Linked DNA regions of Homo sapiens: regions 1 and 3 are each linked to region 2. The links are contacts of gene promoters, found by promoter capture Hi-C in blood cells and fetal thymus (Javierre and others, 2016). All regions are on one chromosome and are shown on one strand. Each heading gives the region's core, a stretch centred on a gene start or on the middle of the fragment in contact. The rest is flanking DNA. Distances are from core to core; before and after follow the strand shown.

Evidence for each region. The method cuts DNA at HindIII sites, captures the fragments that hold promoters and counts their contacts. A CHiCAGO score of 5 or more calls a contact.
Region 1: a fragment that was not itself captured here is called in contact with the fragment with the promoter of KCNH8 in region 2 in 1 of 17 cell types (total B cells); the score reaches 6.8 in total B cells.
Region 3: a fragment that was not itself captured here is called in contact with the fragment with the promoter of KCNH8 in region 2 in 2 of 17 cell types (M1 macrophages and total B cells); the score reaches 7.1 in M1 macrophages.

What each region holds. Positions count from the first base shown.
Region 1 is chr3:19,948,452-19,952,231 of GRCh38, forward strand. It overlaps RAB5A (RAB5A, member RAS oncogene family), which reads left to right. Exons shown (of 6, transcript NM_004162.5): 2 at 2,355-2,610. The coding sequence starts at 2,448. Among named protein-coding and RNA genes, the nearest start is that of RAB5A, 3.2 kb to the left of the region's middle. The HindIII fragment of the contact is 770 bases long and covers 2,146-2,915 here.
Region 2 is chr3:19,146,965-19,150,537 of GRCh38, forward strand. KCNH8 (potassium voltage-gated channel subfamily H member 8) reads left to right here and starts at 1,546. Exons shown (of 16, transcript NM_144633.3): 1 at 1,546-1,831. The coding sequence starts at 1,756. RefSeq lists enhancers at 1-394, 395-988 and a silencer at 1-107. The HindIII fragment of the contact is 4,663 bases long and covers 1-2,317 here.
Region 3 is chr3:19,888,806-19,892,116 of GRCh38, forward strand. All of the region lies in intron 9 of EFHB (EF-hand domain family member B), which reads right to left. Among named protein-coding and RNA genes, the nearest start is that of EFHB, 44 kb to the right of the region's middle. The HindIII fragment of the contact is 3,636 bases long and covers 1-3,311 here.

The DNA.
Region 1 (3,780 bases), core at 1,281-3,780, 800 kb after region 2:
CCAGTCAATTTTTTGATCAAAGAACCCTTAGAAGGATTTTAACTATAGAATGAATAACAGTTATTTTCAAAAGATTACAAATGTATATTATGCAAAATTCTTGTTTTGCAAAACAGAAGTTTCAGTAAGCAGTGAATACAAATGAATGCACGTAATTTTTAACCTTAGTGTTATGCTAAGTGTATATTTACCATTAACTTTAGTTATTTCCTGTTTGAGATCCTTAGGGGGAGTAGCCACAATTAAGTAGCTTTAAACCTTAAAAGTCAAAGTGAAATCAGAATCTTGTTTGATTTTTTTTTTTAATGGGAGTCTGATATTTTCCCTAAAATTTTGGAAGTGCCGTAGAAATTTGGAGCATATTGTCCTTGATAAGTAATTTCTTGTTTTCTTAAATAAAAAGACAAATGGAAAATGTTTTGATTGTGTGTAATATCTGAAGATGTATTGGTGCATTTTCAGTATATATGATGTTCTATTGATATTTTATCATTTTCTTATCAAAGGAGCACATTATTGGCAATTTCAATCCCTACTATGTATATTAGAGATTGTTTACATGTATTGTTTTATTTAATTGTCACATCAGCTATGCAAGTTAGATATTATGGGAATAGAAACTTGGAAATTAAAGAGTTTGCCCAGACGGAAATTGGTATAGCCAGGATTACACCCCTAAATCTGGTATGTTTGTGGAGGAGGGGGCATTTTTATTTATACCTTGTTATTTGGAAGCAACTCAGATATTACGTCAATAAATCTGTAAATATTTCAGTATGTAATGGTAAAAGATAAGGACTCTAAAAAGCTGGTGTTTAGTTAAGGCAAGGAGGTAGTTTCATTGCCTTAAGAACTAAGATCTCGTGGACATGTTAGGGAATTCATTATGAAGAGCGTATTATAAGCTCATTTTATGGGAAAGGCATATTTCTTTCTTTTGTTTTTAATATAGAGACAGGGTCTCACTGTGTTGCCCAGGCTGGTCTCAGAGTCCTCCTGCCTCACCCCCAAAGTGTTGGGATTTACCGGTATAAGCCACTCTGTCCAGTGTGAAAGACGTATTTCTTATATGAGGTAGCTAAATGAAATATAGCAGGGTTTTTAGAGAGGGAATCATCAGGTTTAATATATTAGCATGTATTCGGATTTTGATTAAAGATAGAAGGAAACTGTTAAGATTGGTTTGTGAGTGGATTGAAAAAGGTTCTTCAAATATTCACTAATTCCTTAGAGATTAAAAATTAGCATAGAAGTCGCCATTCAGGCTAGATTTCTTTAATGTGTTGTTTAAATAAAAAATAATGGCCTGCAGGCTGGGCGTGGTGGCTCACACCTGTAATCCCAGCACTTTGCGAGGCTGAGGCAGGAGGATTGCTTGAGCCCGAGAGTTCAGGATCATCCTGGGCAACATAGCAGTTAAGTGTCTCTACCAAAAAATTAGCCTGGCATGGTTCTGAGCGCCTGTAGTCTCAGCTACTCAGGAGGTTGAGGCAGGAGGATTGCTTGAGCCCAGGAGGTCTAGGTTGCAGTGAGCTGTGACCACGCCACTGCACTCCAGCCTGGGTGAGAGAGCAAAACCCTTTCTCCAAAAAAATTTTTTTAAAAATGGCATGTATATTGTTCGTCTAAAGACTACAAAAAAGTTACAATTATTGTAAGTAAATAAGTCAGTAATAATCACCACATGGAGAACAACTGTTAGCATTTCTGTGTATGGTGTGCTTGAGCAGATGAGGAAACAGTTTTAAGTCTGCCGTTAGGCACACAAACCTGGGAGACTGAAAATATTTGTTGTCCAAAATTACCATTAATTAAATGAAAAATGCATCGTTTAACAGAAAACTTCAAATAATACTAAATTTTAGGATCTGTTCTAAAAGTTTCCCATTTATTAATAACATAATTTTTCTCAAAACAATGTTAATCCAAGTAGCCTGGCTACAGAACTTGAACTCGAGTCATCTCTCAGGTTGCCTGGGTTTGAAACTCGGCTCTGTCACTTCTGTGACAATAACTGTGTGACCTCAATTAAGCTTCTTAACATCTCTGTGCTTGTTTCCTCATTTATAAGGATTGTAATAATATCTCATTTTATAGGATTGTTGAGAAGTTAAGTACTTAAAGCACTGCCTGGCACAAACTTGAAGCTTTGAGGTTAGCCTTTAAAAAAAAAAGTAATTTTGGACTCACATCCTATACCTTTGAATTTCCTTTAAAAGATAGTGACATAATCTAAAGGGCATTGAAGGTCTAGTAGAGTTTAAGATAATCATGCTATAGGCAATATTTAAAGTGATTAATAGTAAATTTGCTTTACTGATTTGTATATTTAATTCATAATTGTTTCTTTACAGGTTTCTTTACCTCCAGAAAGAAGAATATTGGCCCCTTGAATTCTGGAAGTTCATTGAAGAGTCTGAAATTAGGGACTTATTTCAAATTTGGACATGGCTAGTCGAGGCGCAACAAGACCCAACGGGCCAAATACGGGAAATAAAATATGCCAGTTCAAACTAGTACTTCTGGGAGAGTCCGCTGTTGGCAAATCAAGCCTAGTGCTTCGTTTTGTGAAAGGCCAATTTCATGAATTTCAAGAGAGTACCATTGGGGGTGAGATTTTCTTTTTTCCCTGCTTCATTTAATCGAATCATACATTGACAGAAAATATTTTGATGTTCCAATTGTGTGATTATGAATAGCTAAATAAGTCATAGAGTGAAGAAAAGAGCTGTTCAGCTTACCTTAGCTTTAAAACTTGCCTTTATCTTTGTTAAAATGATGTGTTTTTATATTTGATTGTTTGGTTAATCCCTTGTGGTTATATTGTAGCTAAAATACAGATAAAAAACATGAGTAGAATCAGTGTCTCAAGTAATAACATTTGACCTGATACCTATTTCTAGCTAACAACTAGAAGCTTCTTCAAATTAATACAGTACATGTTTGTGCTCAATTATATTGGTTTAAAATGAATAGTAAAAAAGGTAACCTTAAATTCTGATCTATATAACTGAAGTATTTGCAAATAATTATACTTACTTGTAAAATTAAATGTAATTAAATACTGCTAGATGTACTTTTTTTTGGTATTTAAGAGATGGGATCTTGCTGTCGCCTAGGCTGGAGTGCAGTGTCCGGATCATAGCTCACTGCAGACTGCAGCCTGAAACTCTAGGCTCAAATGATCTTCTTGCCTTAGCCTCCCACCAAGTAGTTGGACCTAAGGGTGCATGCCACCATGCCAGGCAAGTTTTTTTTTTTTTTTTTTAAGAGTCAGAGTCTCGCTGTGTTTCCAGGTTGGTCTTGAACTCCTGGCCTCAAGTGAGCCTCCAGCCTCAACCTCCCAGGTAGCTGTGATTACAGGTGCTCCCTGCTGAGATGCATATGTAAGAATGCTCCTAAGCTGAGGGAAGAGAAAAAGTGATTAATGGAAAGGGACATAACAGGAAAATGGAACCTGAAGAAAAAGATGAAAGAAGAAGGGAAAGAGTAGGCACTGACAAGGGTGGTTATGGTGGGACAGAGATGAGGGGAAGGTAAGATGCAGGGTGAAAAGGAGACAACAAACAGTACAGTATTGTCAAGAGAGGACGTGAAATGGGAAAATTGAATTTTAGCTGGACATGGTGGTGCATTCCTGTAGTCCCAGGTATTTGGAGGCTGAGGCAGGATTATTTTAGCTTGGGAGTTCAAGTCTAGCCTGGGCAACATAATGAGAACCCATCTCTTAAAAAAAATTGACTTTAATCAAAGAAACCTATAATTATATAGCAGTGGGAC
Region 2 (3,573 bases), core at 296-2,795:
CGCCCCCGCCCAGCTAGCCTAGAGCCTCTGCCGGATCTTCTCGAATTTCAACACAAAGGGAATCCTCGGCCGCAGGAAGTGCATCACGAGAAAGGGGGCCTGGGGGCGGGGAGAGGGGGATGCCGCTTCTCTCTCTTCTCCCCCTCCCTCCCGGAGCCCAAGGCAGACGTGACGAAACCCGCGGGGTCCCCCCCGAAGCCCCAACAGCCGAGATAATTGAAACAAGAAACCCCCTTAGTAAGGGGGCGGGGGGTGGGCCCTCCCTCCCTCCTCCCGCCACGCCCGAGTTCCTGGAGATCAGAGCTGCCTCGCCGCGGCTCTGACACCTGTTTGCTTTTTCCCTCCTTTCCTTCCGGGTGCACTAGCACCTGGGCTTACGTTTGTTTTTCTACCCTGGGGCTCTCAACTTCCCTTCCACACTCCACCTCCCTTGCAGAGTTTTCTATAAAGTTCGGGCTCTGGGTGTCCCCTTGCACTCCCCACAGGGCTGTGCCGCAGGCTTGGGCGACTTTCCCCGCAGAACGTTGGCCGAGAGGGAGTCCCCGCGGGGGGGGCCAGGGGGGAGGACTGGGAGAGACCACTTTCGTTTTCTGAGACGCCTTCAGTTCCTGGCCGTCCGCCAGGCTTTCTTCTTGGAGGTGTCAGTCTTCGGGAGTGGGGGCTGGGGAAAGGGGGGCAGGCTAGGGGATTTGTGTTTGAAGCTATTTTTGGAAGGCAGCCTTACTGTTTTTACTTACGTGGTATTTTGCAAATTAATAAAAATAGCAAACTTTTCTAGAAATGCTTTATTCACATTTTACCGGAGAATGGGAAACCATCCATTGTCCGTTCAAAAGGCTATTTTTTTAAAGTTTGGGATGGCTTGGGGAGGCCAATGGCAATTTGGGGAGAAGGGCTGAAGCACCCCTTTTTGGAGCTCGGGGCCAGTTTCCCGGACTAAAAGACCCTGGTGACTGGGGATGGGCCTCACAACTAACTCGGGCTGCCCTGCCCCTGTCGCGTGGGCTCGCAATGGCAAGTGCTCCGGAAGGGGGCCGCCTCCCCGTGGGGCTCCTGGCTGCCTCTGCTCCCTTGGACACCACTGGGGGGCCTCCCCCTCCTAAGTTCTAGGTTGAGGCCGGATACCTGCCCCGACCTGTCTCCTCCCTTTCTCCAATACCACACCCACGGGACTCCAGTCTCCCCGGGAGTGGGACGGAGAGGGAACAAAGGGGTCTTTGTTCACTGGCTCCCGGGGCGTGGGAGTTGCGCTCGCTCTCCTTTCCCGGCGTCCCGTGGAGACCGGGAGGCTCAGCGCCTCTCCCAGCTCTCAGCGCCGCCCTCCCAGACCCCAGAGACGTCGGTCAGGGCGCGGCGCCCCGGGCCACTGCGGGCTCTTTCCGGGCGGGCGACGTGGGGGGCGAGGCACCGCGCGGCGGCGCCTGGCGGGCACTGTTGCCCGCGGAGGGACGGTGGGGGGGTTTCAGCAGCTGGCGGGGGTGGAGGGGGCGGGAGAGGGAGCCTGCGCCGGGCTGAGCCTGGAGGTGCGGGGCGGGCTCGGGGAGCGCTCTTGGGGCTCCTCCTGCCACAGCCGGGGCGGCTGGAACTCTCTCCCTTTCTCCCTCCATCCTTCCACTTCCCCTGCTCGGCCCCGCCGTCAGGCCGGGTCCCCCTTCCCTGCCGTCATCAGGTTCCCCTTCTCCCTTCTTGGCACTTTCCTTTCGAACCATCCTTCTGGACAAACTTTGATGGAGAATTTCACACCACGCTGGAAAAATGCCGGTTATGAAAGGATTACTGGCGCCGCAAAACACCTTCCTGGACACCATCGCCACCCGTTTTGACGGAACACGTAAGTCTTACACTTGAACGAGTGGTATGGCATTTTCTGAGACTGATTTTTCTCGTACACATTACTTTTGCTCCCACCTTCCCTTTTGCACCAGCGGAGTGAATTTTCTTCTGTTCTTGCCAAGGTATCTTTTGTGCGGAGAAATTTGTTCCCTCATGGTTTGGTGTAGTATTAACACTTTGTATTGGTGTAATAGTTGGCTCTCTTGAGTTCTTGGGTTTGTTAAGGACTGAAACGCAGCCTGAGGAAAGACCGACGCCCGTATTCACTGTGGGACCTGCATTTTGGTGTATCTTTAGGGAATTGGTTGTAATTTTCTGAGGTGAAAAGGGGAATATCGGTGTACCTAATCTTTCTAGAGTTTCAAGGCTCCCTAGATCAAAAGGAGAGCTTGGAGTGTTCTTTCTTGGAGCTTCATTCCGTGATATATTTCGGATAGGTATGATTTTCTATCTGAGTTTAAGAAATGCAGGATTGCCAAGTGTAAGCTTTCTGTAGAATTTTAAGTGTTGTGAGTTTGTCAGAACCTTGATTCCTGCTTTTGAGCTAGAATAGCGTATCTTTTAATCCTTAAATGAGCCTAACACTCAAGCAGAGGCTGTTCAGGAAGAAGGACATGAATAAAGACGATTTGATGATAAGAGAAAGTTTTTAGTTTTTTTTTTTTGAGTACGAATATTATTGGACATTTAGCTCATTTAAGCTACAGTAGGAAAAAAAATAGATAGGATGTTGTGTGGTTGCTAGCAGACGGTTCGTTATCATCTGCAAGTTGTTCTCTTTCAGGACCACGGTCAGGTCCCCACTCCTTCTCAGGCTTTTCAAGCTCTCTACTTGACCCTGTGGATCTTCCTAGCTGGCTTTAACCCTGTAATTAGGAGTCTGTACTACCACCCCTAACAAATGCTCTCAGTTGGTTTCACTACGAATATCCTCATCTTCTTTCTAGCTTATCTTGCTTCTGTGCACTGTCTTCCATTTTTCTGTTGAGACTCAGAGAAACTCATTTATCCTAAAGTCCTTCTTAGTGGTTCAAGTGTCATTGCTTTTACTCTGTATATTTCTTGGAGCTGATATGGGAGAGCAATACTAATTTCATTTCCACTCCAGTAGTCTAAATACACAGTCTTATCTTTGGGTGGGAAGCAAGTCTTGGACTTATGCTTCAGGGATAGTTGGAAAAGTTTACATGAGAAAGAAATGAATCACTTTAATTTTGTTCAGTTTTTATTTTTGACATCTAGTCTAATCATGGTAGTTGGTGTGGATATTTGGTCACTTCATAAGTGTTTTTATCTTTACATCTAGCCATTCTTTTCCCTTTTATATTCTAAATGTGTTAGATGTTATGTATGAGGTGTAATGTTATTACGTATGTCTTTTTTAGATAATAATGATAAATATTATAGGAAAACTTCAAGTCCCTGCCATTGCCACTACCACACCACTGAAGCGCCACACAAAATCACCACTGCTGTGTTTTACCATGCATGATGGCGGATACTACTATTTTACTATTCATTACCTGAGGTACTGATCAGTTTAATGTGGATGTTTTTTTTTTTGAAGTTGAACATCCAAAACTAAAAGGCTGTAAACATTGATCCTGAATTTGTCTATTGAAAATGAGGTAATTGGCAAATGGTAATTGTTTATCTCATTGCCATTTAAAGTTGAATGAAGTGTAATGTGTAGTGAATCATCCCAGCACAGCCTTGGGAATTACTGCAGTGATACATTCA
Region 3 (3,311 bases), core at 373-2,872, 740 kb after region 2:
ACCGTGGTAGAGCATTATTACCATGATATGGGCTTGACATTTCATATGACCAATAGGTGTGTACTTTTGACAGCTCTCTACAATTTTTATCCTTACAAAGTTTTTAATACCTTCTGTGTTTTAACCTGGCAATAAATGGCCCTTCATTTCATTGCCTGTTATTAAGGAGAAATTGGGGAGATAGTTGCAGGACAAGTTCACGGAGGTGGGTTCAAAGACAGTGGTCTGGTTTTCATAACACTCCTATGGGCAAGAGGGAAATGCTACCAATCTGATGGTCAGCCCCATTGAAACAAGTAACACTAAGATTCATCCTGGTAAGTAGGGGGAGGAGGGTGGAGGGAAAAAGTCTCACCTCCTTTCAGACAGCAGTTAAAGACAGAAGTACCTACACTGAGTATGAACAGAGGGAAATGTATAAGGGCTCTCAGCAGAAACTGGCTGATTCACTTGGGAGATGAAGGGGCAGAGCACACAATGTTCGTTAAGGAAGAATGTCAACAGCTGGGACATCTTAGCACTCAGTCCCTCCTGCAGTCTATCAAGCCAACCTTAAATCCATTCAGAGATGATGGCAAAGGTCCCAGTTTTCTTGTTTGTTTCTGCAGTGAATTCTTCCTGCTATAAGGGAGCTTTGGCCCCCTCAGAGAGACTTCCCTGAGAGGAAATAACTCCCAAGAGGAATCATAAATGAGTCACTGCGTAGTATTTAAGCTCTTACTGCCCAGGACTGGATTTACAATGCTGATGGAGGCAATCCCCTGGAGAACGAGAAACTGACTCGATGAATTATAAATTCTTGCAGTCAGACCCACAGCCCTGGAAAACTTCCCTACTTAACCCTTGTATTCAAACAGAATGAGAACTTAAAATATATGATCTTGACAATACAGCTGCAAATGCCCTGGATTAAAGCAGACTCCTTTATAAAAGTCTCTACTACAGGCCAGGCACGGTGGCTCATGCCTGTAATCCCAGCACTTTGGGAGCCTGACCAACACGGAGAAATCCCGTCTCTACTGAAAATACAAAATTAGCCAGCGTGGTGGCACATGCCTGTAATCCCAGCTACTCGGGAGGCTGAGGCAGGAGAATCGCTTGAATCCAGGAGGCCGAGGTTGCAGTGAGCCGAGACTGCGCCATTGCACTCCAGACTGGGCAACAAGAGTGAAATTCCATCTCAAAAACAAACAAAAGTCTCTACTACAACCAAAAATGCAAACCCACACTCATCCTAGCTGAAAAGCAATGCGGGATGTGGCTGTTGAATCAAGAGAGCCCCAAAACTGAAACAGATGCTGTCAACGATAAATTACCGCCTAATATGCAGGGCTTTGTGTGCACTGAAAACACTGGTGGTTTGTTTCATGGAGCTACCATGCCACCACCATGCCACTCAAAATCAAAGTAAATATTTCTTACTTACTAGTGCAAAGCCATTCTCTCCCTCTGCACCCTTAATCCCTCCCTCCCCCAAGCCCTGATCTCATCCGCTTTAGGGAGAAAGATGATTAGAAGTAGGACCAAGGGCTCCAGGTCTTCAAGAGGGATGCATCTGTTCAGTGGGGTGAGATTCTCACATTTTTATGGTTTGGATACAGTTCCCAAAGTCATCATCATAGTCAGTCCTGGGAGAGGATGGTAGGGAAGGATGTCCGAATTCAGTTAATGGGGTTTGGGCACAGTTTGCAGAGAAGAATTAAAGATAACCATGTATTATTGCTACGGCTTCCAAGCCTGAATATTTAATTGGTATTGATGCTTTCCATGTCTGTAGAGTGAATGTTCATATGTGACAGAGGGGATTATCCTGATCAAGAAGAGCCATGTATAGACAATTGTTATTACCTTTGGGACCCCATAACCCTAATGACTCCTTTGAGTTACAAGTCTATAACTGGTGGTTTTGCCAATTAGAGCCTCTGGAAAAGAAAGGCAACCTTCACTTGGAGGTGCACCGTGAAGTTTAGGACTTATTGCCTCCCTAACATAATTACCAGGTAGACCTCTTTTGAAAAGCAGCTATTAGCCTGTCACTGAGCTCTTCTGGAAACTGAACACTGGACCCATGGAGGCCTTCTGACTCTCCAGCCAATAATCATTTTGAGGCCGGCCAACTTGGACTAAATGACTAACAAAATGAAAAAGGAGCAAACAAGCCTCATATGTCAAATGGAAATGGCATATTCAAGAATGCAGCCAGCCCAACCCCAGTAACATCTCAGCTTTACGTGTAAAAGAGTAGCAATATTTTTGTTGTTGTTATTGCTGCTGCTGCTGAGACAGGCTATCAATCAGTTGTGCAGGCTGGAATGCAGTGGCACAATCATAGTTCACTGCAGCCTCAAACTCCTGGGCTCAGGTGATCCTCCTGCCTCAGCCTACTGAGTAGCTGGCACTACCACTCCTGGCTAACTATTTGTGTTTACTTGTAGAGATGGAGTCTCACTATGTTACCCAGGCTGGTTTCAAACTCCCAGCCTCAAACTATCCTCCTGCCTCAGCCTCCCAAAATGCTAGAATTGTAGGTGTGAGCCACCACACTCAGCTGAGAAGTGATCCTTTAGAAAAAAAAAATTATTCACCACTCTGTCACCTGAAGCAAAGCCACTGGCTCAAGAGGACCCTCAATTCACAGAACCTCCTCTAAATGCCTGGGCCTGTTTCACTTATAGTCTGGCTGAGCTGAAACCTGGTGGTCTTCACTGAGCTAAACTAAAGGCCATTCTCATGGCTCTGGCAAATACTCCCCTTGATAAACCTGTTATATTTTTACTGACTCTTGGGCTGTTGACTGTGGCCTACCTATTTGGTTGGCCACTTGGAAAACAATAAAATAGCAGATTAAAGACACCCCTTTAAGGGACTGCAAACTATAGGACAAAAATTATGGCTACTGATTGAACTATCTGGGTAGTTCATGTAGATACTCACCATAAGCATGGGAATGATTGGAATCAAGCTGCTGATCAAGCCTGAACCATCCAGATTGCCAACATTGCTGCCTGTACATACATGGCAACACACCCCCATTACACACAGAGCACAAGGTAAAGAACTCCATGTTTCTAATGCAGAAGCCACCACTACATGCCAAACTTGTGACTGCCAGAAGTTGACTCATTTGTCTTACGGTGAGAGAGGACACATCACACATAGGGATCTCCCTCATGCTCCTGACAGACTGACTACAGTGAACCTCTGACCCCTCCCTCCTCAGAGCTATTGGTGGTGCCACACCAATATTGACACTTATTCAAGTTATGGAATTGCCATTCCAGTCCAATCATATGGGTCTAGTCCCAACAGTA